6 separate regions of the Homo sapiens genome follow, and all the other regions are linked to region 2. Evidence: promoter capture Hi-C in 16 types of primary human blood cells and fetal thymus (Javierre and others, 2016). All regions are on one chromosome and are shown on one strand. Each heading gives the region's core, a stretch centred on a gene start or on the middle of the fragment in contact. The rest is flanking DNA. Distances are from core to core; before and after follow the strand shown.

Region 1 (4,653 bases), core at 755-3,254, 340 kb before region 2:
ATTAAGAATAAGGGGAATGTAGAAGCGATCTTTCCTTTACTTTAAAACTTCAAATTTAAGCAAGTGTCACTTTCTAAGAACCTCTATCGTGTGGTGACATCATTTGAAAGCCCTCTTCCTTCATAACAAATTCCTTATGCTCTCTCTGTTCAAGTGTTCTTCCATCGCTTACTATGCTCTACTTTATCCTTTAAGAATAGCATCAGAGGCCAGGCGTGGTGGCTCACACCTATAATCCCAGTATTTTGGGAGGCTGAGGCAGATCACCTGAGGTCAGGAGTTCGAGACTGCCTGGCCAACATGGTGAAACCCTATCTCTACTAAAATACAAAAATCAGCTGGGTGTGGTGGTGCACGCCTGTAATCCCAGCTACTTGGGAGGCTGAGGCAGGAGAATTGCCTGAACCCGAGAGGCGGAGGTTGCAGTGGGCTGAGATTGTACCACTGCACTCTAGCCTGGGCAACAGAGCGAGACTCCATCTCAAAAAAAAAAAGGAAAAAAGAATAGCATTAGAGAGGGTCAGCTTTTATGTATATTTTAAACATATAATTTTTACTCATTTATAGTCATTCTTTATCTCTTTTTTTGTTTGTGTTTTATCTAACTAATTAAAATTTAAAGATAGGGACTAGGTCTTCTCTTTCTGTTTTCCTTTTCTCAATCCCAGATGCTGTAACAAAGTACAAATTGTAGCAACAATTTGAATAAATAAATAATAAATGAGTTCATGAAAGAAAACTATAGCACCGGGTGTGGTAGCTCACGCCTGTAATCCCAGCACTTTGGGAGGCCAAGGCGGGTGGATCACAAGGTCAGGAGATCAAGACCATCCTGGCCAACATGGTGAAAACCTGTCTCTACTAAAAATACAAAAAAATTATCTGGGTGTGGTGGCGCGTGCCTGTAATCCCAGTTACTTGAGAGGCTGAGCAGGATAATCGCTTGAAGCTGGGAGGCAGAGGTTGCAGTGAGCCGAGATCATGCCACTGCACTCCAGCCTGGCAACAGAGAGAGACACTGTCTAAAAAAAAAAAAAAGAAAAGAAAACTATAGTATGAAATAAATTATTGAAATAAAAGTATTTTTTCCTACACCATAATCTACATTATGTCCTCACTCCAAGGAAGATAACTTAATTTTGAAATAAATTTTAATTATTTTTTCCTTTTAGGTAAGCCTCCCTATATAACTTCAGTGCTTTAGCAAATAGTCCTCTTGGATGTTAGCTGGGTTGTTAAGGTATAGGAGATCACAAAGGCATATTATTAATTCCAGTGTCTTCTTTACCATGTGAGCTACTCTAAGATTTCATGTATTAAAATGGCCCCAAAGTAGATTCACATACAGTTTCTTGAAAAGATGGATTTGTTAACATCTCCTTGGTCTGAGTCTCTATGTCCAGAGCAAGGCTACCCTTGCTAAGTTTGGTTTGTTTTAGGCCTTTCCTTCACCCATTTAGCTGCTTGTATGCACATTCTTATATACATATATTCATGTATGCATGCTTTCATTCCTACAATGCTTCTGATTTCATATGGTACCCTACTTTCCTGTTCTGTGTTAATAACAAAAGTTTATATGACACCACCACAGAAACTCAAATATGTAACAAAAGCATACAAAATGCTTTTTCAGTTTCAAACTGAGAAAAACTTAAAAGATCACCTCATTTTTTTTCTTGGAATGATTATTCACATATTTCTGCAGAAATTGATTTTCTCCAGACCCTTTGTGATGTTATACAATATGTAGTATTATGTACTCCTTACATTCTAAAATCTGAAAACTTTGGAATTATGACCCCAAAAGTTGTAAAGTCTGCCTTCACCATTAGTCCTCCTTTAGCCAACTCTTAAAAGTTGGAGTTCCTTAAGCTTCCATTCTTGTCATACTGCTGCTTTCATCCAGCATACTCTTCTTTACCTCTTATTCACTCCAAAGGAACTCTACTAGGTTTACAATCTATTCTTCCCAGTTCTTTATCCACATCCCTGACGTCTTCCCTGAGCTTTAGAGCTACTTTGGATTACTGAATAGCTTAGTAAAGACACTTCCATTCCTTTCAGAATTTGGGTCCAAATGAGAAATAGACAGGAATCAAATAAAGATCAAAACTTCAGCATTATTGTTGGAAAGCTTGCTTTGAGAAAACAACAAAAAGTGCCAAAAAGAACGTAAACCATGCATTTGCAATGACTCATTCTTCAAATTAAAAAATTATGTAACTCACTATTCTTCTCATGGGGAAGAATGAGTAAGGGGTAAATTTTTATTCTTAACATTTCTGAGTTGGCCATGGGTAGAGGAATTTCTACTTTTTGTACTGATTCAGGAATAGTGGGTAAGGGAAAGAATGGTTTCCCCCACACTCTCTTAATTTTATTAATCTTTCAGGGTTAACATTCCAAGTGTTACTTGAGTGATCTAACTAAAATGTAAAGTTGATCATATCTTCTTCTTTAAATTATTCAGTGACTCTCTATCACCTAGGATATGATCCATGTTTCCAGCATGGCCTATAGCCCTTTTTACTTCCCTACTTCAAGAGGAAATGACCTTCCTGTCACTCCCTTTTTCTCTGATATTACTCTCAAGTAATATTGAACTTATTGCTTTGTTCTTTACTCTGGCCTTTCCTTTTGTTCGACAAGGTCAAGGACCTTGTTTTGTTGGTTCACCTTTATTTCCCTAGTGCCTGGGACAGTGTCTAGCACATAGCTATTCAATAAATATGCATTAAATAAATGATTAGATGATTAAATGAATAACATACTCATAACAATAAAAATAGTTAATATTTTTGACATAAATTGATATAAAGTGGGTATAGAAGTTGGTATGAACAATAAGGCCTTAATAGAGAGATAATTAACCTTGATAGTATATGAAAAAACAAATGCTGGATTATAGAGCATCTAAAGGATATAGTTAGCTACATGAATGCACAAACACTTTTCTATTTAGTTTTGCTTTTGGAAATATATTGATATTCTACATAATAAAAAAATTAAATCTACAAGGCTGGGGGAAATGAAAACTGAAATAAATTGTATAACTAGATTTAAAAAGAAAAGAAAAAATGAATACAAATAATTTTAAACACAGTGCATTATATACCATCTTTCTAAGGGTAAACACAAAACAAACTACACACAGATTTTGAGTTCTTTTTAGTGAGCTTGTATGTCATAATGATATGGGTAGAACAATTCTGAACCCATATGATAAGTACCATAGGACTAAAGAAATGAATAAATGTGTTGATATTATTGGGTTCTTACTGTGCAAAGAAATGTGCAGAATGTAGGAAAACAATAAACCCTGTGGGGTTGGATTGGAACTGGAAATGTATGTGTGTATGTATGAGTGTGTGTGTATACACATACATATATATGTATACATATTTTATATATATGGATTTATACACACACACACACACACACACACACACACACACACATATATATGATCCAGAAGCAATGATATTCCAGTAGCAATGAGCATACCGAGCACCCAAATCTTGGTTTCTAAATATCATCCCTCATTAAAAGGAACCAGAGCTTCTTGGAGAAATAGTTGATTCTGGGGCAGGGGCAGAGAAGGTATATGGTGAGTCAGGAACATCATCATATGGTGACAGAAAGTAATAAAATCCTTTTTTTTACTATCTATATCTATAGGCATATCTATAGGACACAAGGACAACCTGAAGGGGCTCCCACTGGCCAAATCTTAGACAATTTTGGGTACCAACATAAGTAAGAAAATACACCGGGCACAGTGGCTCATGCCTATAATCCCAGCACTTTGCGGGGCCAAGACGGGCAAATAGCTTGAGCTCATGAGTTCAACACCAGCCTGGGCAACATGGCAAAACCTCATCTCTACTAAAAATGCAAAAATTAGCTGGGCATGGTGGCACATGCCTGTATTCCCAGCTACTTGGGAGGCTGAGGTGGGAGGATCGCTTGAGCCTGGGAGGCAGAGGTTGCAGTGAGCTGAGTTCATGTCATTGCATTCCAGCCTGGGTGACAGAGCGAGACCTTGTCTCAAAAAAGAAAAGAAAAGAAAAGAAAAGTAAAGGGTTGAATAAAATAGGAGCCTGTGCCCTCATCCTGATAACAACTGGATAAACAAGGAAACAAATAAATAGAGAATAAGGTAGGGCTCTTCCTTATAGCAGAATGTCAATTGACAAATGTGAAGGGGTGGTAGATTTGGAAAATTAGTATTTTGCAAACAGCATAGTAAAGATTGGTTCAGGCAAAAATTATAAATGGTTGCTAAATCTTGGGGGCAAATTTTGATATTTACATGGTCTTAAAGTGTTTTGCTCCTTATTAGTTGCAAGAGGGAAAATAGCAACTATACAGTAGAGAAACTGGGTGATCAAAATTAACATCACCAATGAGGAATAGATGGACATTATATAACTCCACAGAGGATATCCCCAGAACCTAATGTCACTTTTTTTTTGAAATGAGGTTGCTATGTTGCCCGGGCTGATCTTGAACCCCTGGGCTCAAGCAGTCCTCCCACCTTAGCCTACTGCATAGCTGGGATTACAGGCATGCACCACTGCACCCAAGCCATAATGTCACTTTAAAAATATTCTGGATGGAGGTGCATATCTTGAGTCATGAGGACACATC
Region 2 (4,728 bases), core at 201-2,700:
AACAGGTAACACAAAATTTTTCTTGCCATGCCTTCTCTGTCAAGGTGCCTGTTTCTCTTTCCTGGAGAAAGTATTCTTTTGAGCTGACTGCAAAAGGAATTGTATGAAATATGTTATCTGTCAGAAGCAGTGTAGATACTACAGGTAAAAGCCCTCCCTCTCAGGAAGAATAAAATATTTTAGAAGGTTATTAAGCACTGTGCCTGCTTGGAAGTACACAAACTGGGTACTCTCAATAATAGTACTATGGTCAAGGTACAAGGAGGACTTTGTGAGCCATAACCTACCCAATTAAAATGTTTATTTCTTAGGCATTTTCTAATATTTAGTTCATGATGATTATTATGCTATGTTTACTTCATTATTGTTCTTACTAACACATTAAGATATTTAATTTTTGCATATTCTTCAGTGTAATAGCTCTCAAAATTAAATTTTTAACTGTGAAGAACAAAAAAATTACTGAGAGAGTTTCAAATAACAGAAATCACTTGAGGTTTTCAGCAGTGCTCAAGTAAGCTTAAACATCCAGCAAGTTTCTTTTTTTTTTTCTGTTATTAGTGAAAAAAACTTATTTTACACAACTAAATACAATTCTAAAATCTAATGTAAGTTTTAAACACTGCTTGTAGTATCTCCCAGTCCTTGCCTTGGTGGTATTATTGTGAAAGCATAAGCATGCTATCTATATTTGCCTTATTAAATTAATGCTATGCAAGTACTTTATTTTTTAGTTTTTTGTCTCTATAAGAAAACAAATAATGCAGCAGATTTTTGTCTCATTAATATATTCTCATGCAATCTTGAAAAAGAGAAACTCTTTTCCTTTCTACTTACATACAGGCCAACAGCTTGTTTAAAAGAGCCTGAAAATAGATCTGTTTCTCATAAACACTAGAACAACAGTCAGCAGAACTGTTGATATACACTAATAGGACTACTTACACTCTGTAGGCATGGTAATGATTGTTTCCGTTGTAGCGTGATAATCGTCATCTTCCAAAGAGCCATCGCTGCTGTCATCCCTCTGGACATCATACTGATCAATCAGTTCCCGGAGTGGAGGAGCTTTGGGTAAAAGTTGTCTTATAACATCTTTGCTGATGTTAGGAGCTGTTTCCAGACGAAGTTTACTGAGGATTTGTATCTTAATGGCTTCTATTCTTGAAGATTTAGTGTTTTGTCTCCAAGTACATGCATTACACAGCCCCTCTTTTTCCACATTTTCTTTTTGCTCACTGTTCTCATTTAGATCCACTGGACCAGCAACAATCAGCATAAACAGGTAAATATAAACACAGAGTTGCAGTTTTTGCATGATTTTAAAATCAATATAATCTTTTTTCTTGTTCTTGTTTCTTCCTTTTACTTTTCTTTTGCTTTTGAGTAATGCCAAGCAAAATTTTAATGCATGTACAGTCTGAGAGACAACTTGCCACACCAGTGAATCTTTTATACTGTATTCCAAGTGGCTTTTTATATTCCAACTTAGATGAGACAAGTGTCGTCAGGATCTATGATTGGCTCTTGCTCCACAATGAATCTCGCTGTCAGAGGTTAAAACCCTGTCTGTCCCAAGTCACCAAGCAGTATTTTGTTACAGTCAAGGGTGAGCTGATTCATTTGACTACTTCATAAAAGAAATAAATCTACAAATAATAAAAGATATTTGTGACATTTGAAAAACAAAAGTCTATGTTGGCAATAATATAAACTGTACTTAAATCTTACTAATCCTCACACAACTCTTATTGTAATTTAAATAAGTCAATTTTAATTTATACTACATATTTAAAATATGAAATATTACTTCCTCAAAAACTAAAATGATTTTATATTGTTTAGGCAAGTATTTGAAGTAGAAAATATTTTTATTTGTTGTATTAAATTATTTTTAGTGCCAAGTAATTAGGAAAATAAAAATTAGGAAGACCTGAATTAAAAGTTAAGATTATGATACTAGTTGAGAATTTTCATCTATAATTTGAGAAACTTGTTTTCTGACTAAATTCTTAGTAAATATTGGAAGTCATTGTTATTATAACATATTGTGCATGGAATTATTTTTACATAGTTTCATGTCTTTTATTAATATGAAAATTATACTGAACTTTTGACTGAGTGCTATTATTTCCTATTCTAAAGATGCAGATTAACATAACTCAGAAGATGTGTTTTTCATTGTTTATTACCAAGAGGGTAATGCCAGCTAGTAGAAAAATCTCTGAACATAGACTAAGATAATGAATTTTATAACTGGCATGGCAGAGATTATTACAGTTTGCCTCAGATTTCCAGCAGTAAATATCCAGAGAGTAAAAAGTGCAGTATCTATTCTCTATAAATTATATCAGAATATTATGAGCACATAAAAGAGAAAGAGCATCATGATAAAGGGGTGACCTTTTGTTGTTTCCCAATACTGCGATATGTTTGCACCCCTTTGCCAATTTCTCATTTTGACCAGAGGGCAGACACCTGGCAGGGATTTGGGGTAAAGTCTGGGAGCAGAGAATAGAGCTTTTTGTTCTCTAAATTTAAGTGGCCTCTGTAGGGATCAAACGTTCAACCTTAGCTTTGGGAGCCACAAGATCTAGTCAAATGAACTATTAAAGAGCTAAGCAAACATAGCCAGCAAGAAACAGAAGATATTTCTAGGCCAAAGGAGATTTCTTTTTCCTACTCCTTTTTGGGAAGCTAAGGATTCCTAAGAGATTTAGTCCATTACTTTTTTTTTCCAAGAGAATACAGTGGCTCATATCAAATATTTATTTTTAAAGTCACTACCATTTTTGCACACTGTACACTAATTTACTGCCTCGGTGCACTAAAATGCAACTCAGTAGCCTGAAAAGTTAATGCATTTTCATCAAATTCTTAAGAGGTATCTACATCTCTTGAGAAAAAAATGGCCTTACATAATGCATTGGATTTGCTCATCATTAAAGATTAAGGAAAACCAGACACAAACCAGATGCCCTGAGGATTTCAGATACTCTTTGTTATGGGACAATATTAGATCTGGCTTCTAAGGTTTTATTTGTTTGGTAAATTCATTTTTCAATGTGTAAATCTTTCAAATGTTATGATCATTGTAACACATGCATCTATACAGTTCCAAGTAAGTCAAACTTTTTTTTTAATATGCTTAGAATTGTATAGCAGTTGAATTGAGAACTCAGGCTCTGGAGTCAGATAGACCTGAGTTCAAATCTCAACTTTGCCACTTCTAACTATGTGATAATGGATGAGATACTTAACTTCCCTAAACTTTAGCTTCCTCATAGGGTTTTGGGGGGATATAATTTAATAATGCATGTAAATTGCTGAATATGGCACCTGTCATATAGTAAGTAATTGATAACTGGCATTTGAGTGCTTGCTCTTTGTTTTATGCAGAAGGGTTTGAGATTATGCTTAAAATTATGCTCCACATGAACTAGAACTGCTTCAGGTCATAGCTGCCAATTATCAGTCACAAAGCCTACTTTCTAGGCCTGTGAGGCAAGTAAAATTTTCTAAGGCAGCCAGGTTACAAGACATGTTCCAGCTCTTTATTCTTATCACCTGGAAAAAAGTGAACAAAGGTTGTCATTTCCGCTAACAGACAATTCTTATTATTCATGATTTCTGTATTCACAAATTTGCCTACTTGCTAAAATTTATCTATGAAACTCAATATTCCTAGCATTTTTCAGTCATTCGCTGGCATTCACAGAGCGGCAAAAAATTTGAGTCCTATCTGACGCACAGGTTCCCAGATGAGGTCAAACAAGGCAGGGTTCCGCCTTTTTGTTTCAGCTCTCATACTATAAACAAATTCCCTTTTTCCCGTCTATTTAGTGCCATGTTTTCACATATTTTGTGCTTCTTTTTTTATTGCTCCTCTTATTGATTTTGCTTTTTAAAAATGGCCCCCAAGCATAGTGCTGACGTGCTGCGTGGTGTTCCTATGTTCCTAATCACAGGAAAGCTGCAATGGAAAGTAGCATGGTGGTTGCCAGGGACTGGGTGAGGCACTGAGGGGTAGTTACTGTGTGATAGATACAGAGTTTCAGTCTGGGAAGATGAAAAATTTCTGAAGATGAATGGTGGTGATGGTTACACAACAGTGTGAATGTGCTTAATGCCACCGAACTGTACACCTAAAAATGGTTAAGATGCTAAATGTTGTGTATATTTACCACAATTTTAAAAGGCTGTGATATGCCTAAGGGAAAAAAGTTCTCATGAAAAAATGCATGTGCTAGATAAGCATCATTCAGGCCTGAGTTATAGTGCTGCTGGCTGTGAGTTCAGTGTTAATGAATGAACAATATATATTAAATAATGTATTTGTAAACAAAAACATACATAAAACAAGGTTATATATTGATTGGGTGATGTAAATGTTATGACCAGAGGCTCAACTAACCCTGTTTTTCCCCTGGGAACAATAGTTCAATATTTGCTAACTCAGTGTTGGCAATGACTTTATAGAACATAACTACTATGAATAGGGAGAATTGACTATATCTAATCAACTTCTCTAGAGAACAGTATTGAATGGGTGAAGAAGAACTGAAGAAATTTAAGTAAGTTTTATTCCTTCTCCAGTGGCAGTGATTGCAACCTTCCTGAGGCCCCAGAATAGAAGGGCTCACCAGCTATAGGAAACTTCAATGTAGTCTGACTGCTGGAGACCCAGTTCTGGCAGTTCTTATCACCAAGGAGACAGGACAGTACTGC
Region 3 (4,561 bases), core at 1,578-4,077, 300 kb before region 2:
CTCCACTGGCAGAAAGAGCTTCTTGTACTATTCGTTGAATATTTTCTCTGTGAAGCTGTTGAGCTGCTGGAGGAACAATCCCACCTGTTCTGAAAGAAAGAAAGACAGCATTTTGTAGTTTTAAGATTGTAAAAATGAAGAAAAATGATATTACAGCTAAAAGCATGTCTTCAAGTTAATCATTATATAGCTGAGTAAGTCAAGTATTTTCTAATTGTGTGCCTTCTAACATAGCACACTATGGTTAAAACTCAGTAAGCAGTAATTAAGGGGATAATGTTTCTGACTTTTTCAGTTTATGCACAACAGACTCCCATGGATTTGTTTGTTGACAAATGAAATCACCAAAATAATCTTGTAAAGCATTCCATACAAGTTTTGAGCATGGGAAGGACAGGAAAAAATTGTATTTAAGGAAAATTAATTTCCTTGCTGACAGAAGATTTTAAGAGAGATTACTGCGAAAGTATTTGTGTAAAATGATTATATCTTAAACTGGGCGATTGTGGGAATGGAAAGAAAGGGACAGAGAACCTTAAGAACTATAATAACTAACTGAATATAAAGGGACAGGGGGACTAAGGCATCAAAGTTTGTTCAGCTATTCAGCTGGAATGACCGGGAGAAAAGAAATTCTAAAAGAGAAACATGAAGACAGTTTTATAAAGACGACGAGTTTATTTTAAAACACATTCCACTTGAGGTCACAGCAGGATAGCAGATAGCTTGCAATCCTGAAATACAGTTTGGGAATCTGGTGCTCAGAGTTTGTAATTTGGATTTTTGGTCCATGTAGGATGGTGGATGGCCACTCCAAATATCAAGTGTAAAGAACTAAGAGACAAATTTGCTAGCAACAAATTTGCTACCATGTGATTGATTTACAATATGAGAACTGGAGCAATAAAATAGAGTCTGCAAAACGCACTGCTAGTTTCAAAAAAAAATCATCTTCCAATATTTGATGTTGCAAGATCTACTAGTTCTATGTGTAGAAATGAAAATCCTCAGTAAGTGCATTCAATGAATATTTGCTGAGTAATTAAAATATTGTTTCAGGCAATGAGGGGGATATAAATGAAATGATCTGATTTCAACACATCCACATTGTAATATAATTTTCCTTAATTCTTCAAAGCTACTTTTTCTCTTATATTCCTCATCTTTGTTAGTGGCATCAAATAACCCTTGGGTTTCAAAGTTCATCTTTACTTCCTTTCTCTCCCTCACTCTCCGCATTTAAGTTTATCACCACTCCCACTGCCAAGTCTCAAAAGCCCTCATCTCAGTCTGTTCAACAGTCTTCTAATTGTACTTTCCTAACTCTGTCCTTTGATCCTTAGAGCCCATCCTATATTGCTGCCAGAGAATACTCTAAAGCACATGCTACCAGTTATTCCCCTACTCAAAACCTTTAGTTTCATGGAATTTGGGAGACATCAAATCCAAATTCTCTCCCTGCAACTCATTTCTTCCTTCTCTGTCTTGCCTCCCTCCTTTCCTTTCTATGCCTTTTCTGTGTATTTTATCTTCCAGGGATTATGCTAAACACTAGGGCCAAATAAGAACATGGCTTTATTCTCAAAGAATTAATAATAACAATGTATTTTTGTCTATGATTTGTAGACAGTATGGAGTGTGGATTATGGAACAAAGCTAACAAAGAGGCAGGGAAACCACTGAGGCTTGAAGCTATAGCCAAGAGTCTGTGCAAAAGACAATAAGGGATTGAACTCAGTCAGTGAGAAGGGAGAGGAAAGTTGCAAAAAATATTTGGGAGATGGATTTACTATGAATGGATGACTGATTTGGATGTGGAATGGTGAGGGAGAAGTCAAGGGTGTCCTTCAGGTTTCTGGCTTGGAAGAAGGGACTCCTCCTGCCAAGTAATCCTCTATTATTGCATTTTCCATGCTGTTTCACAATGATCTGCTTACTGTCTTCTTCATTTTTACTGATGGTAGTAGTAGAACTACTATTGTTACTAAGAGCTAGCTTGTATTCAGCCCTTGCTATTCAAGAAGAATGCCCTAAAAGCTTTAAAGGAATTCACACTTAATATTCACAACATTAATTTGAGTTAGTGGTCATTATTATCATTTTACAGATAAGGAAACTGAGGCACAAAAAACTGTGCACAGTATCAAATGTAGTAAATGGTTGAACCAGAATATAAGCCTAGTAAATGGCTGAACCAGAATATAAGCCTACACTCTAACCCACTTATATGGTGAGCTGTTCAAAGGCAAGAGTCATATGTCTCATTTATATTTGTATCCCAAATGCCCTAAGTATTGCCTGGCAGCTATAGGTATTCAAAAAATGCTGAGATGAGCCAGGTGGATGGTATCACTGAAGCCTGTTTGCCCAGTAGTCTCCTCAAGTGACCTATGCTCTAGCTAAACTGAATGTCTAGTACTTTCTCACTTCTTTGTCTTTGCTGACAATGCTCACTTAGTGATATGGTTTGGATCTGTGTCCCTGCCCAAATCTCATGTAGAATGGTAATTCCCAATGTTGAAGATGGGGCCTGGTGGGAGATGACTACATCATGGGGGCGTATTTTCCCCTTGGTACTGTGTCGCGATAGTCAATGAGTTCTCATGAGATCTTGTTGTTTAAAAGTGTGGGCCGGGAGTGGTGGTTCACGCCTGTAATCCCATCACTTTGGGAGGCCGAGGTGGGTGGATCACTTGAGGTCGGGAGTTCGAGACAGCCTGACCAACATGGAGAAACCCCATCTCTACTAAAAATACAAAATTAGCTGGGCATGGTGGCGCATGCCTATAATCCCAGCTATTCTGAAGGCTGAGGGGGGAGAATCGCTTGAACCCGGGAGGCGGAGGTTGTGATGAGCCAAGATTGCACCATTGCACTCTGGTCTGGGCAACAAGAGCAAAACTCCATCTCAAAAGAAAAAAAAAAGTGTGTAGCACCTCACCCCCCCTCTCTCGGTCCTGCTCCTGCCATGTAAGACGCCTACTCCCAATTTGCCTTCCGCCATGAGTAAAAGCTCCCTGGGCCTCCCCAGAAGCAGATGCTGCCACGCTTCCTACACAGCCTGTGGAAACACGAACCAATTAAACCTCTTTTCTTTATAAATTACCCAGTCTCAGGTATTTCGTTATAGCAGTGCAAGAATGAACTAACACAGGTTATAATATTCTTTCCATCTCCATTCACTGAAGGCCTAACGAAAGGCCACTGAACACCTGTGATGTGTCAAACATTGTGTTAGGCACTAGGCATAGCATAGTGATTAATATAGACATGGCCCCTGTCACCTTGGCACTTAGACTCTACTGAGAGAGATTATACATACACAAGCAAATGTATAAATTGTGAAAGTATTACAAAGAAAATATGCAGGGTATGATGATACAGAATAAATAGGATGGGAGTACCTAATTTAGATAAAGTGGTCAGGGTAGTCCTTTCTGTGCCATTAACTTTTACATGTTCAAAAGTTCAGTGCACTCAGGAAAAACTGAAAGGACTGTGAAGCTGAGGCACGGTAATAATAGTTACTGTCTGCACCACTTGTTTTTCCTTATGCTATGCTGCCTTGCACTATTAATTCTCCTTGTAGGTCTAGACATCATGTCTCCATAATCAAGTTAAGCTTCCTTAAACCAAGGACTTTGCAGTACTTCACAGTGCCTTACTAATATCCAACACAGTCCCTTTCACATAGTTATTGTTTGAGGCTCAATCTGCCTCTTTACATACATTATTTCTAATGCCACCCTCCCGTAATTCTATGAGGCAGATGTTAATTTTCCTTTTTTTTTTTTTGAGACAGACTCTCACTCTGTCGCCCGGGCTGGAGTCCAATGGCGCGATCTCTGCTCACTGCAAGCTCCGCCTCCCGGGTTCACGCCATTCTCCTGCCTCAGCCTCCCAAGTAGCTGCGACTACAGGCGTCCGCCACCACGCCTGGCTAATTTTTTTTGTATTTTTAGTAGAGATGGGGTTTCACCATGTTAGCCAGGATGGTCTCAATCTCCTGACCTCATGGTCCACTTGCCTCGGCCTCCCAAAGTGATGCGATTACAGGCGTGAGCCACAGCGCCCAGCCAATTTTCCTATTTTACTGATGTGAAAACAGAATCAGAGAGGATATGGAACTTGCCTACAGTTACAGAGCCAATACCAAGTGCTTAATTCAGGATTCAAATACAGGACTGTGATTCCAAAATACCAGGCTTTTTCACTATTCAGATGTTGTAAATTGATAGCTTAAAGGTATACTCATCTGTAGAGTATTTTATTCTTATTTATTTATTTATTTATTTTTTTAGTATTTATTGATCATTCTTGGGTGTTTCTCGGAGAGGGGGATTTGGCAGGGCCATAGGACAATAGTGGAGAGAAGGTCAGCAGATAAACATGTGAACAAAGGTCTCTGGTTTTCCTAGGCAGAGGACTCTGCGGCCTTCTGCAGTGTTTATGTCCCTGGGTACTTGAGATTAGGGAGTGGTGATGACTCTTAACGAGTATGCTGCCTTCAAGCATCTGTCTAACAAAGCACATCTTGCACCGCCCTTAATCCATTTAACCC
Region 4 (4,711 bases), core at 805-3,304, 320 kb before region 2:
GTTATAGTAATTCTGTGACTCTGAAAAACAACTGTAGTGGGTTTAGACTCCACAGTTTTTTTTTTTTTTGAGATGGAGTCTCACTCTATTGCCAGGCTGGAGTGCAGTGGTGCGATCTTAGCTCACTGTAACCTCCGCCTCCCAGGTTCAAGCGATTCTCCTGCCTCAGCCTCCCGAGTAGCTGGGACTACAAGCATGCACCACCAAGGCCAGCTAGTTTTTGTATTTTTAGTAGAGATGGGGTTTCACCATGTTGGCCAGGATGGTCTCGATCTCTTGACCTCATGATCCGCCCGCCTCGGCCTCTCAAAGTGCTGGGATTACAGGTATGAGCCACCACACCTGGCCTCCACAAACTCTTATAGGAAAGAAATGCCATATTACATTGGCTTTCAAATATTAAATTAATTCCTCCAGGATGAGGAGAAATGAATCTCAGAAATTACTGGACTTTCTCTGCACTCCACAACCAGTCATATGCATGTCCAGGGTATCTCAGGCAAAGCTTGATATTCAGGCCTCAGGTATAGTGTAAAATAACTGATGTGCTTGGTGTCAAGTTGACATGGTTTCCAGAAGATGCTCCAAAGGCACAGAAGTTTTTAGGAAACTGATTTCTGTTACCAAGAATTCAGTTTTCCTATTTATACCACTTAGCTATTCTCTACTCGGAGTTCCTCCTTCTACTCCTTTGAGAACTATAAACTTTAGTTCTCTTTCTTAGCTGCTCCCTTGGTCTGTTTCCATTTCTAACTTCCCATCTTTAAAGGGTCTTTTTAACTTTAAATAGAGCTTACCTTTAGACAATTTTTGCTTTAGATGATACAACCAATTTTCCCCATTCGGAGGCAATAAACACAAGGAATTTCTTGGCTTATAATAGAGGCCAGACAAAAATATAAGGAGAACAAAAACTCACGTCATATCTCAATAAAGTATCCACATACTCCACACAGAAATATGAAAATACATTTTTATCTTCAAACAAATATAAATGAAATAATATTCAGTTGCTAGCTGCACATTTAATTATTGGGACACTTTATTATTTTAAATCTGAAAACATTTACTTTTATGTAAAAACTTCAGTGATTTTTAAACCTCAATAAGCAATACATTGATTGATTTTAAAGTATTAATAAGGCTTAACTCAAAGCCATTTCAACCGCAAAAAGGACATATTAATTTTTTTTTTTTGAGACGGAGTTTCGCTCTTGTTGCCCAGGCTGTAGTGCAATGGCACGATCTCTGCTCACTGCAACCTCTGCCTCCCAGGTACAAGCGATTCTCCTGCCTCAGCCTCCCGAGTAGCTGGGATTACAGGCATGTACCACCACGCCCGGCTAATTTTTGTATTTTTAGTAGAGATGGGGTTTCTCCATGTTGGTCAGGCTGGTCACGAACTCCCGAAGTCAGGTGATCTGCCCACCTCGGTCTCCCAAAGGGCTGGAATTACAGGTGTGGGCCACCACGCCCGGCCTAAATTTTCTTATGATAATTAAATCATTATGTTCATAGTTATTTTTAAAACCCTAAAAACTTCAAAACAAAATATATTCTGAAGATATGGGAGAAAGAAAACCTCTAATTTTCAAATTTTTCACCCTTACATAAACCTATTTAATTTACACTATTTGTGACAGAAAACCAAACTGTAATTTTGGGGAGTTTATTCTATATTTACATATGCATGCTTTTTCTCAGTGCTGCTTCATTGACAGAGATGTCTTGTGACACAAACTTTTTTCAGTGCTATGTGCAATTAATGAAAGTATTATAAGTTTATATCAATTAAATAACACAAGCATTTTTCTTGTTTAATTTATAGGGAATTTAATAGCAAGCCTGGCTCATTCTAGAGCTGGTATCCCAGAAGCATTTACCACATTAGGAACAATCCAACGGCTCTGCTATCATTTGTACTCGGGAATAGAAGAGGTAAAAACAAGCAAAAACTAATTCTAAAATTAAATATGCTAAAAATATAATTTACCTCTCCCTCTGTGGACTAATTTTTCCACTGATTGACTGTGTTATAGATATAATATAATTCTTATTACTAACTCAAAATTACATGACTGTGTTATATATATAATATAGTTCTTGTTACTAACTCAAAATTACATGACTTTTCTAATACTAATTAGTCATACATATCTGCCATCCACAATTTTAATTCCTATAAAAATATACATTTGTTTTAACCCTAAGACTTAAAATTAGGATTTTAATCACAAAAGCAGTATAAAACGACTACAATTAAAGATTTAAAAAGAACTACCTGTTCAAATTAGTTTCTGATTTAAAAAACAAAAACAAAACCCTACAAAATAAGTCATCTTAATCCTGGAATTAAGAGTCAATCTATAAGTACGTTGATGACAAAGAAACTTATAATTGTTTACTAAGTATCTAATGAAAACCGGTGACTCTGATCTAAGTTATTTCTATGATTTGAAATGAATGAAAATGGAATTCATAGGATAGCTTTCCTTATGTGTCAAGCAGGGTTAGATGTAAGGGTGTGTGAAAGAGGCCGTGCTGGTCACAGCAGTGGCTTGCCTCTGAGTGTTCCCCTACTCTCTTCCACTAAGGTCTAAAGCAGTGTTACTCCACCTTTAGGGTATATCAGAATCACCTGGAGGGCCTGTTATATTGCTTGGCCCCATTCCTAGAGTTTCTGAGCCAATACATTTGAGGTGGGCCCTAGAATTTGCATTTCGAACAAGTTCCCAGCAGCTGAACTACAGGTCCAGGGTTCAAGGTTTAGAAGACATATGAGCATACAGAGCAACCGGATGCCAACATAAAGACCAATATGTTCATTCTATGAAACTTTTTATGCTACTATCATATTCCCTACAACTGGCCAGGAACATACTTTAATTAATCATATGACCAATCTATGGGTCATAGACAGAGGGTATTTTCTTCAAAGAACTATTTTTTCTAGAGTCCTGTGGCCTGACACTTGTGCTTCTTTCTGTTTTTGCCAGTGGAAAAGTGAGTTGCTCTTGTAACGTCTGAATGTTAAAAAAAAATTTTTTTAAAGTAATAAATAAATAAATAAGTTGCTTTCTCTAAGATTTCTGTTACCAAGAGTTCAGCTTTCCTATGTGTACCACTTAGCTATTCTCCAAAGTGTCTGTTCCTACTCCTTTGAGAATGATAAACAAAATAATTAAATAAGAGTTTCTAGGGATGGAACCCAGGCATAATTGTCAAAGTTATATGGGTGATGCTAATGCATTGTCAGGGTTGCATCCACTACCTTAGTTCAAACTCAAGTTCTTTCTTTGGTGGCACATTAGAATTACCTGACACACACACACACACACATTAGAATTACCTGACACACACACACACACACACACACACACTAGAATTACCTGACACACACACACACACACACACACACACACACACACACACACACACACACACACACACACACACACACACACACACCCCTGAAAGGATTCTGATTTAGTTGGTGGGCTTTTTTTTTTTTAAACACTCCAGGTGGTTCTAAAATGCAGTTAAGACTGAGAACAACCACTAGAAATCAATGGCAGTTGACAGCTCTCTGTAAAAATATGGCAGTTAAGCTTCCGTCTATACACTGCCATTTGTTTGCATACATATTTGCTTACACTTGCTCCCTCCCTTACAGAGACTTTCCTATGAAATAGCTAATTAGAACATTAAGATATTTTAAGAACAAAGCCCACTGGTTAAGAAAGAATTGTTTCTTCATTTAGGTTCGTGCAGCTTGTTCCTCTGCTCTTGGCTACTTAACATACAATGCAAATGCTTTCCGCATCCTATTAAAAGAATGCAGGAATAAACCTAATCAGTTCATTCGTATAAAAAATAATATCAGCAGAGATGCAAGTATTAACCCAGCATTTTTAAAGGAATTTCAAATGCAACAAACACTGGTGGGACTTCCTTCCTTAAGGTATGGTCCTATGTTAGAAGTTGCAGTAGTGAAATCATCGATAGAGGAGACTTTAATGAGGTTTAGTAAGATCCAACAAGAGGAACTATTCTTGATATGAACATATCTCCTGTATAGCAGAGGATAAACTTTATTCTAAATGACCACTGCCACAACCTGTTTTAATTCCAACTCAGCACCAGAGTTGTGGGTGCAGACAAGAACACATCTAGATCTTAGAGATCCTCTCTGGCCAGGATTATTCACATTTTAGAAAGTTTTGGGGAGACTGGTTACCACAACATCTGATTCAAGAAGTCACTTTTTAGCAGACTAGGGATACATTTGAGAGTTCTGAGACAAGACCACCACCTGACCTTAGCATCAAATGGGTTTTCCGGACCAGATCCAAAGCTAGGCCAAATTCCCAGGGTGGAAACAGGGCTAAATTAGACTTAGTGGTTAGTTACAGTGAAGTTTGCCAGGTATTCAGAGGATTTTGACTCAATGTTGTGGTTTCATCACAAACTTAACTCCCCCCAAAAAGGGAGGAGAAGAGAATCTCTACTATGGGTATATTTTCTCTTCTGTAAATGTAGCTGAATTACAAGTCTTCTCTCCAAGTAGTGATATTCATACATAGGAAATAGAACTACTCAAGATACGTTAACTCTATGATAACGGAAGAGAATAGGATCCAATAGTGCATCCGAATAGGACCCATGTACAAACATAGATTCTACATCAATTTTAAGTACAGAGAATGATGAG
Region 5 (4,473 bases), core at 1,961-4,460, 420 kb before region 2:
TTTTTTTTAAGAGATGGGATCTCCCTATGTTGCCCAGGCTGGTTTAGAACTCCTGGGCTCAAGCGATCCTCCTGCCTCTGCCTCCCAAAGTGCTGGGATTATAGGCATGAACCCCAGCACCCAGCCTGAGGCTGAATAATTCTAAACAATTTGTATGAGTTATTATTACTATACAAAAATATTCAGGAGTATAATGAAATCTTTTAAAATATATAAGCCAAGAGACATGTGAATAGCAACAACCTAGCTGTTAATCCAATCAAAGGTAGGAGTATATTTATCCATTCCCTCAGTACTTTGACTAATATTTATTGTTGAATGCCTGCTAATTTATCAGCCCCAGTGATAGTTACTAGAGATATAACAATACATGAGAAACAGTCCAATTCCACATTGGAAAAATAAGCATACTGTCAATAAAACAAACCTGATAAGGATCACAAAGGAATCCAAGGAGCTACAAGAACACATAAAGAAAATAAAGAAAGTCTTAACCTCCTCCTGTGCTCAGGAAAGGCTTGCAGGAAGAAGTGACAAGTGACAAGTAGGGTGAAACCTGAGAAGTTAATTGGAATTAAGCGTGTATGTTAAGGCAAGGTAAACAGCATGTTGGAAGAACCTGAAGTAGAAAGAGCTTAGAGAGTACTAGGAAGAGAAATAAGATCAAAAAGGCTGGAAATAGTCAATGAAGGGGACAGTGGCACAAGCAACTACCATGTAGGCCCAGGTAAGAGAGTTTAGAATTTAAAAGCACTGGGGAGCCACTGAATACTTTAAGCAAGGGGCTGAAGTAATCTTATTTACATATTTAAAAGTCCCCAAAGTGCTTGGAAGGCAGAGATGCCTGAGTGGGTACAGGGAAAACAGGCTGTTGCAGTAGTCAGGGGAAATACGATGGACTAAAGTGATAGCAGCAGAGATGGAGTAAGGTGAATGGATTTAAGAAATCCATCTGAAGGAACTCAGAAGAGCTTAATGATTGGTGGGCTGTGAGAGGTAGAGGAATCCATGAGTCAAGGTTTCAGATTTGAGCAACTGGGTGGGTGGCCATGTCATTTGCTGAGATAAGAAACCCTGGAAGAGGAAACATAATGAGTTCAGTCTGGGACACATTGAGTGTGAAACATCTGTGAGTCAACCAGGCGCAGGTCTTGAGTAAAATGGGACTAGAACTCAAAAGAAAGACCTGAACTCAAGTTACAAATTGAGAGTTGTCAGCATATAGATAAAAATGGAAGTCATTAGAGGTGGATGAAAGCACCTACTATGGAAGGTGCTGGAGCTAAACTTGTATACCTGTAGACCTATTCACTGTCAAGTGGTTCACAGTCCAACAAGTGCAGCCACATATGAACAAGGCCAGAATTTTAGTTCAACTGCTATGAAAACTACACTGAAAAGCCCTATTATTGATCACTATAGGTATACCCCTTCTCTGTTCTACCCTCTGGAGGTATATTTCCCAATTCAACTCAAAACTAGAAATGCATCTAAAAGTAAACTAGCCACCATTTTGTTTTAATCAAGTAGGCTTCAACAGAGAGTACCTCTTGAGCCACTAAGAGCTTTCAGTGAACTCTTTTCCTTTTTATTTATTTATTTTTTTTTGAGACGGAGTCTCACTCTGTCACCCGGGCTGGAGTGCAGCGGCGCGATCTTGACTCACTGCCACCTCTGTCTCCTGGGTTCAAGCGATTCTCCTGCCTTAGCCTGCCGAGTAGCTGAGATTACAGGCACGCGCCACTAGGCCTAGCTAACTTTTGCATTTTTCGTAGAGACAGGGTCTCACCGTGTTGGCCAGGCTGATCTCAAACTCCTGGCCTCAGATGATCCGCTTGCCTCGGCCTCCCAAAGTGCTGGGATTACAGGTGTGAGCCACTGCGCCCGGCCCAGTTAACTCTTAACAATAAAATTTACAAGTTGAAATATATTTACATTGATATCATGCTTTTCTAAATCATTGAACAAGAAAATAAAGGGAGTAGATTGCAGATTTTGTGTGTGGTCACTCTCGTAGTGATGTGAACTTTACAGTTTACAAGGCTGTGATTATGAAGCCCAAGGTCTGCTAGACTTGTGCCATATGCAAGTCTGTTCACAGTCGAAGGCGGTTCTCGGGACAAAGTCTATTTTTAAAATGCATTTTGTAGCTTAAAAGAGCACTGCATGCAACAGCTAAGGTTTCTGTTTGAAAGTTCACTTGATATCATAAATAATTACCAATTAACCTAATGAAGATTGACATTTTTGAGATTTGACTCAATTATCCCTTTTCCTTCCTCCATTCCTTTCTCTTTTTCTCCCACTTCTTCCCCTAATTCTTCCCTTCCTCTCTTCATTCCTTTCATCCTCCCTCCTTCTCCTTTTTTTTCTATTTTTCTCTTTTTTCCACAGTTTCTGCTTCTAAGCTTTTTATGGAATGACACAGAGCACATATATAAAATCGACACACCTAATACAGCAATGTTAAGCAACCTCTTCTATGTAAAGCACTTTGACAGAACTACAGCATCAGTATTAAAAACTGAAGAGTCCTTGTGGATCATCTTACCCAATTCACCCATTTTACAAATCAAAAAAGGAAAACTTCTATCCCACTGTTATGCTTGAGAATCATCTTAAGGCTTATTTGGCCATCATGCTAGATTTCACATAATAATGACAGACACTCTTTTGTATTATTTTATTAAGTTAGCAGGCCTAGACCTGTACTGACCGATACAGTTAGCCACTGACACATGTGGCAACTGAACCCCTGAAATCTAGCAAATTTGAATTGAAATGTGCTGTAAGTGTAAAATACACAACAGATTTTGAAAATAGCATAAAAAAGTAAAATATCTTAATAATTTTTATATTGATTTTATGGTGAAATGGTAATGTTTTGATACATTAAGTAAAATATATTCCTGAAATTCATTTTACCTGTCTCTGTTTACCTTTTTAATATGGCTACTAGAAAATTATATATGATGTTCACATTTTGACTCATTTCTATTCTGTTCCAGAATAATAGTGCCTATCTCATACAAATTTTTGTTGGTTAGCTAACATTTCAGGCCTTTATCTTAAGTTCCTAAACTCATCCAACATTGATAAGTAAAGAAATTCATTCGCCTTACCAAAAAAAAAAAAATGGGTGGGGGAGCGGGGGGCTCACATGACCTAAAAGATATTGAGAATACATTGGTCATAGATCAATAATCCAAAGAATGTAATGTTTTGTCCAACGTCACATAGATCAGTACAGAGATGGTTCTAGGGCTCAGGACTTCTATTTTCTCACTGACCTTTTATCTCGAAGCGTTCAGTGAACAAAATTGTGGAATGGTCTTCAGTGGCTACAAAACTGATTTCAGTTGAATTAGACAAATATTGGAAAGCCTAATAGGTGCCAGGCATTTTGCTAGGCAGCAGTAATTGAAGGGCTTAAGTTTTATCACTTTAATGTGTGGGGAACTTTCCTTGAGTTCTAAATGAAAAAATAAAACTACTTTTGCCACACTTTTCTCATATTCATAATTCAATTATGACCATGTCCAGATGGGCAAATTTCTTAATTTTAAAGCTCTAAACTGAATATTTCATCAATGTAAAAAAGCTGTTAAAATTTTCATAACATGTGGCCGGGTGTGGCAGCTCATGTCTGTAATCCCAGCACTTTGGGAGGCCAAGGTGAGCGGATCACTTGAGGTCAAGCGTTCAAGACCAGCCTGGCCAACATGATGAAACCTCGTCTCTACTAAAAATACAAAAATTAGCCAGGTGTGATGGTGTGTGCCTGTAATCCTAGCTACTTGGGAGGCTGAGGCACAAGAATCACTTGAACCAAGGGGACAGAAGTTGCAGTGAGCCGAGATCATGCCAGTGCACTCCAGCCAAAAAAAAAAAAATCATAAAAATGTGATTATATGTTAATTAAAAATTAATTTTAACTTAAAAAATACATTAAAGCCATTATCAATTTTTTTTTTCCCAAAATGGTCTTATTTCTTCTGGTTATATTTTAGTTAAAGCTTAAAACTTAAGTGTACTATCTGAAATATACTATTTACTCTTTCCTTAAAAGACCAGATTTTGACATCTATTTATATCACTTCTGGTTATGAGGTTTAGAAATGTTCTGTTACCAAATAGCAAATTTTAGTTTTTAACTATAGGCAACTCTTTTAAATATTCTTGGCAAATTTAAAGGAATTAGACTTTATTCAGAGTAATTCTTCATTGCAAGAATAGTAAAGGAGTTACTTAAATTACTTGCCTTAAACCTTTGGACACTGTGGCTTAGTTCTTCTTCTATCATCATCTTGGCCTTAATCACTTATTGTTTAGATCATCAACAAGGAAATGCATCATTGCTAACTATAGAATTAATTCTACTTTGTTTTGGGTCTTCTAGTATGGTGATGGATTCAGTATATCGATATTTTAGTTAATTATTTGCATCTATACTCATGAGTTTTGGGGGCTATT
Region 6 (4,465 bases), core at 827-3,326, 400 kb before region 2:
GTAATCCCAGGTACTTGGGAAGCTGAGGCAGGAGAATAGCTTGAATCCAGAAGGCAGAGGTTGCAGTGAGCAGAGATCGCACCACTGCACTCCAGCCAGGGCAACAGAGAAAGACTGTGTCTCAAAATAACAACAACAACAAAGTGAAGTGATACTTCACTTTGGAGCTCTCTTTTTCCTAAACTTGGATTCTTAAAATGTTTCTAAGCTAGCAGTTTTGTAAGAACTTTTTTCCTTAAAAATCTGGCACATTTAAAGTATTGGAAATTCTGGGCTTTTAAAAATATTGGGATTATACCAGTGCTTATTTTTCTCTATAAACTAGTCAGAACAGAGGCCCTTTAATTAGAGATACTATAGTGGGATTTATTAATACACTCCAGAAGTAGGGAAATATTTCATATTTACAAAGGGAGACATAAAGCCTGTTCTAAGTTACAGACACACAGACACATAAAGAGGTTATTGCTTCTGTCTTACAACTTCAATCTCAGGTCAAAAGTAAACACAAAACCACAAAAATTCACCAGTTCTTCTGCTTGAGCGGCCTTTATGTTAAAACAAACAAACAAAACCTTACTAGCCCACATCTCAAATAGCTGTCCTCCTTCCCTCTCAGTGGACACAAAAGTAATTAATTAATTTGAGCTCACAAACAATAAACAAAAAGACTTACAAACTCGCTTCTCTGTCACCTCTCTTATTTATTTATTTGAACCCCTGGCCTCAAGTAATCCTCCCACCTCAGCCCCGAGTGGTTGCGATTACAGGTTTGAGCCACTGCACCTATCTACCTCTCTACCAATGAGACTAGACGTCCATCATCCAACAGATACCACCAAATGGTTAGACCACAAAACCAAACTCCCAATCATTGCTGCTATCAATGTATCAGTAATGTATAAGTTATACCTGAATAACTTATCAGGAATGTACAAATCAGAAATGAAAACACAATCTTTAAAAATCAATTATAAAGGAAAAATATATAACCACTTGGGTTTTCTGTAAGAGCAAATAAAAAACATGCCTGGCCTTAAACAACCCATGATGTATACATTTCTTTCGCCAGATAGTTTGATTCATCACATAAATCCAGTTGGGCATCTCTGTGGAAACTTAAGATTTCCAATAATATAGTATAATTATCAAAAACCTAAAATCATGTCTCTAATGTGAACATAAAATATATACATGTCAAACTTTTATTCAACTCATTGGTTAGTGAGGGAACCGATGACTTTAAAACCAATACAGAATATTAGAGAAGCTAGGCATATGTTAATAAAGAAATGTTAGGACAGAATGCAGGGTTAGATACAAAACTGACTAATGTGTTGCAGAACAATAAATCATAACCTGTGTTGGTATCTGGTACAACAAAAAATTATTTGCATCTCTACCAAACCAAAATCTCTACCAAAGTTAACCTTTGCCCCTACAGAATTGTAAAACAGCCCAGTCAATATAATAAAGTCAAGTCCAGAGCAGCACTGAAAGAGCATCCAGTAAATAAATCTCTTTTGCCTATTTCCAAGTTTTAGTCATTTTTTCCACAGAAATGAGATATTGCAAATATTGCACGGGACATAGATGCACTAAAAAACTATTAATTCATCTGAAGTTCATACTGTATTTTATCCGGCAACCCTAACCACGAGTTAACCAAAACTTTACCAAGTCTGTACAGTTCTTTTGCCAACACGGTATCTCTTAAATCTGTTCCTTAGCTTCATCTTTCCCTAGATAATAAATATCATATTAAGCGCTGTTTCTATTGCACGACTATTCTTCATATTTACCACTGGAGGGCGCACAGAACTCGTAGTATACTAGATAAGAGGTCATGAAGAAACCACCTGAGCGTTTCTGCATCTCAACCACAAGAGGCCAGTACAGGAACCTCAGATTTTGCAACCAGACTGTTTACTCGCTCCCTAAGCAGCCATGCGCAGGCGCGAAACTCCTCCCCAGGCCAGACCCGGCCTGCGCATGCGTTCAAGTGAGCGCGCAGACGCTATTGGTAAGACTCGCGGGAAAAGAAAGGGTGAGCGCGGCTGGAAGCGCGCATGCGCTGTGGCTAATGCCGTAGGCTCCTTCAGGGCTGAGCCATCCCGCGTGTCTTGCGCTCGGTGGAAATGCCCAGCCGAGGGACGCGACCAGAGGACAGCTCTGTGCTGATCCCCACCGACAATTCGACCCCACACAAGGAGGATCTAAGCAGCAAGGTGAGTGTGAGACGCGACGAAAAGGCTCCTGGACTCGGGACCGGGCGCCACTGGACCCTGAAGGTGGTCCGCAGCGGGCAGCGTGGGGCCTGCCTGGGCCTCGGCTTTGCCCTGCTACTTTGCTCTTTTTATTCATAGCACTTGACAGCCACAGTTAGTCCTTTTATTTTCTGAAAACAGTTGCGAAAAGGGAGATCTTGAAATTTGTCCCGAGACTGGACCCAGGTGACAGTGGGGCGGAGTTTTGGTTGGGTGTTTTCCTCCCTAGTCTTTTTAAACTTTTGGAAATACCGCCCACCCCAAATCTGTTCCATCAAAGATATTCTCCATCCAGTTAACCATGCCAGCAACCCGGGGTCCATCCTTGACCCCCATCATGGAAGCCTATCAGTTCTACCTTTGAAGCTCATTTCAAATATGTCCCTTTATCACCGTGAACACTCTTACCACCCCAAATAAGCCACCGTCATCTGCTATCGGGACCCCTGCCCCCGGCAAGGCCTTCCTAAGCGGTCTCTCCTCATCCACCTGTTAGCTGCTGCTTCTCCGTTAACCAGAGCAATGGTCCTAAAACACGCATTGGGTTGTCACTCATACCAAACTGGGGGAGAGAGGAAGCCAATATAATATAAGCCTTAACTGCCATAAACAAACAACCTTTAAAGATAAATGGGGGTGGCGAGGGTTATAGCCCTTCAGGTATTACATGTCCTAGATTCTACTTTGGTTCTGTCCCAAACTTACAATGACATCTTGGGCAAGTCTCTTTAATCTTTCTGTATCAGTTACCTTCTTTGAAGTAAAGTGAAATGTACACCTGTCATTCCTAAAATGGGAAAGCCCTGTATAAATGTTAAGTCTCAAAGAATGTTTACAAATTTGGCCTTGGAATTCAACCTCATTACTACAGCTCTGCCAACGGGGGAGACAGAAAGGTGCACATTCATGGGGATTGGGGGTGAATTTTCAAAAGACACACAGCCCATTCTGATTACCACCATAGCAAGCCACTTACGCATACTGGTGGTTACAGATCCCTGAGGTGTGTGTGAGGTAGCACAAATATGATAAAAGCTGCTTTTAGAGGCTCTTGTGATACTATGTAATCAGTCATGTTCACAAAATAAATAGAGTTAAAAAGAAACTTAGTTTTCACTTAGTTGAGCCCTCCCCTACAAATAAATGAAGCCCAGGCCAGCATGGTGGCCCAGGCCTGTAGTCCCAGCTACTCGGAGGCTAAGGTGTGAGAATCGCCTGAGCCCGGGAAGATCAAAGCTGCAGTGAGCCGTGATCGCACCACTGCACTCCAGCCTGGGTAACAGAGCAAGACCCTGTTTCAAAAAAAAAAAAAAAAAAAAAGCCCAGTTCAACAGTGCCAGCTCTATGCTAGTCATTGAGATAAAAAGAGGGAAAAATACCAAGATGGAACATGATAGGTCTTACTGTCCCCAAATAGGGCATTGCTTGATTTGAATGTTTGACTGCAGCACTTAGTACATAAAATCATGAAAATATTGAAAAAAGTAACCCACCCCTCATTCAATTTGCTTTTTTTTAAATCTAAATCACAACTTAATTTTCAATCTAAATCACAACTTAATTCCTTTTGGTGTATATCATATATATATATTTTTTAAATTATTTATTTATTTATTTTTTTGAGACGGAGTTTCACTCTTGTTGCCCAGGCTAGAGTGCAGTGGTGCAATCTTGGCTCACTGCAGCCTCCGCCTCCCGGGTTCAAGCAGTTCTCCTGCCTCAGCCTCCCGAATAGCTGGGATTACAGGCATGTGCCACTACGCTTGGCTAATTTTGTATTTTTAGTAGAGATGGGGTGTCTGCATGTTGGTCAGGCTGGTCTCGAACTCCCGACTTCAGGTGATCCGCCCGCCTTGGCCTCCCGAAGTGCTGGGATTACAGGCATGAGCCACCGCACCCGGCCTGGTGTATATCATATATTTTTAACAAAAGGTATAAACCTTGTTTAGTAACTGTAGTCCTTGGCATGATTGCTGGTTATGAACACGAAAATCCCTGTCTGGTCTTAATGGGTTACCTAACATTTTGCAAGTCTAATCACTGTTTTTTCTCCTCCAGCTTTTCCTGAACTGTACCCCCACACAGAGACTCCTGTTGAAAATGATCTGTATATTCACAAACTGCCCGTTTGGAAAACCAGTACATCATAGCCCCTTATCCCATCTCTAATTTTAAAACAACCCCTTAAGGGATTTTCA

Evidence for each region. The method cuts DNA at HindIII sites, captures the fragments that hold promoters and counts their contacts. A CHiCAGO score of 5 or more calls a contact.
Region 1: a fragment that was not itself captured here is called in contact with the fragment with the promoter of MSTN in region 2 in 1 of 17 cell types (M2 macrophages); the score reaches 6.4 in M2 macrophages.
Region 3: a contact is called between a fragment that was not itself captured here and the fragment with the promoter of MSTN in region 2, in 7 of 17 cell types (M2 macrophages, naive B cells, M1 macrophages and 4 more). The highest score is 9.7, in M2 macrophages.
Region 4: a fragment that was not itself captured here is called in contact with the fragment with the promoter of MSTN in region 2 in 2 of 17 cell types (M2 macrophages and M0 macrophages); the score reaches 7.5 in M2 macrophages.
Region 5: a contact is called between a fragment that was not itself captured here and the fragment with the promoter of MSTN in region 2, in 2 of 17 cell types (total B cells and naive B cells). The highest score is 6.0, in total B cells.
Region 6: a contact is called between the fragment with the promoter of ASNSD1 here and the fragment with the promoter of MSTN in region 2, in 16 of 17 cell types (naive B cells, total B cells, M2 macrophages and 13 more). The highest score is 28.7, in naive B cells.

Annotation. Positions count from the first base shown.
Region 1 is chr2:189,721,856-189,726,508 of GRCh38, forward strand. All of the region lies in intron 12 of ANKAR (ankyrin and armadillo repeat containing), which reads left to right. Among named protein-coding and RNA genes, the nearest start is that of OSGEPL1-AS1, 39 kb to the right of the region's middle. The HindIII fragment of the contact is 262 bases long and covers 1,874-2,135 here.
Region 2 is chr2:190,061,279-190,066,006 of GRCh38, forward strand. MSTN (myostatin) reads right to left here and starts at 1,451. Exons shown (of 3, transcript NM_005259.3): 1 at 946-1,451. The coding sequence starts at 1,318. It also overlaps a transcript of AKAP19 not described here. The HindIII fragment of the contact is 9,340 bases long and covers 518-4,728 here.
Region 3 is chr2:189,755,472-189,760,032 of GRCh38, forward strand. OSGEPL1 (O-sialoglycoprotein endopeptidase like 1) reads right to left here. Exons shown (of 9, transcript NM_022353.3): 3 at 1-89. It also overlaps a transcript of ANKAR not described here. Among named protein-coding and RNA genes, the nearest start is that of OSGEPL1-AS1, 5.0 kb to the right of the region's middle. The HindIII fragment of the contact is 1,585 bases long and covers 2,036-3,620 here.
Region 4 is chr2:189,739,514-189,744,224 of GRCh38, forward strand. ANKAR (ankyrin and armadillo repeat containing) reads left to right here. Exons shown (of 23, transcript NM_001378068.1): 20 at 1,829-1,938; 21 at 3,762-3,961. Among named protein-coding and RNA genes, the nearest start is that of OSGEPL1-AS1, 21 kb to the right of the region's middle. The HindIII fragment of the contact is 3,103 bases long and covers 504-3,606 here.
Region 5 is chr2:189,640,724-189,645,196 of GRCh38, forward strand. No RefSeq gene overlaps it. Among named protein-coding and RNA genes, the nearest start is that of ASDURF, 18 kb to the right of the region's middle. The HindIII fragment of the contact is 1,608 bases long and covers 2,407-4,014 here.
Region 6 is chr2:189,659,383-189,663,847 of GRCh38, forward strand. It overlaps ASNSD1 (asparagine synthetase domain containing 1), which reads left to right and starts at 2,077. Exons shown (of 6, transcript NM_019048.4): 1 at 2,077-2,228. It overlaps ASDURF (ASNSD1 upstream open reading frame), which reads left to right and starts at 2,077. Exons shown (of 4, transcript NM_001353493.2): 1 at 2,077-2,228. The coding sequence starts at 2,139. RefSeq lists an enhancer at 2,135-2,324. The HindIII fragment of the contact is 6,437 bases long and covers 1-4,465 here.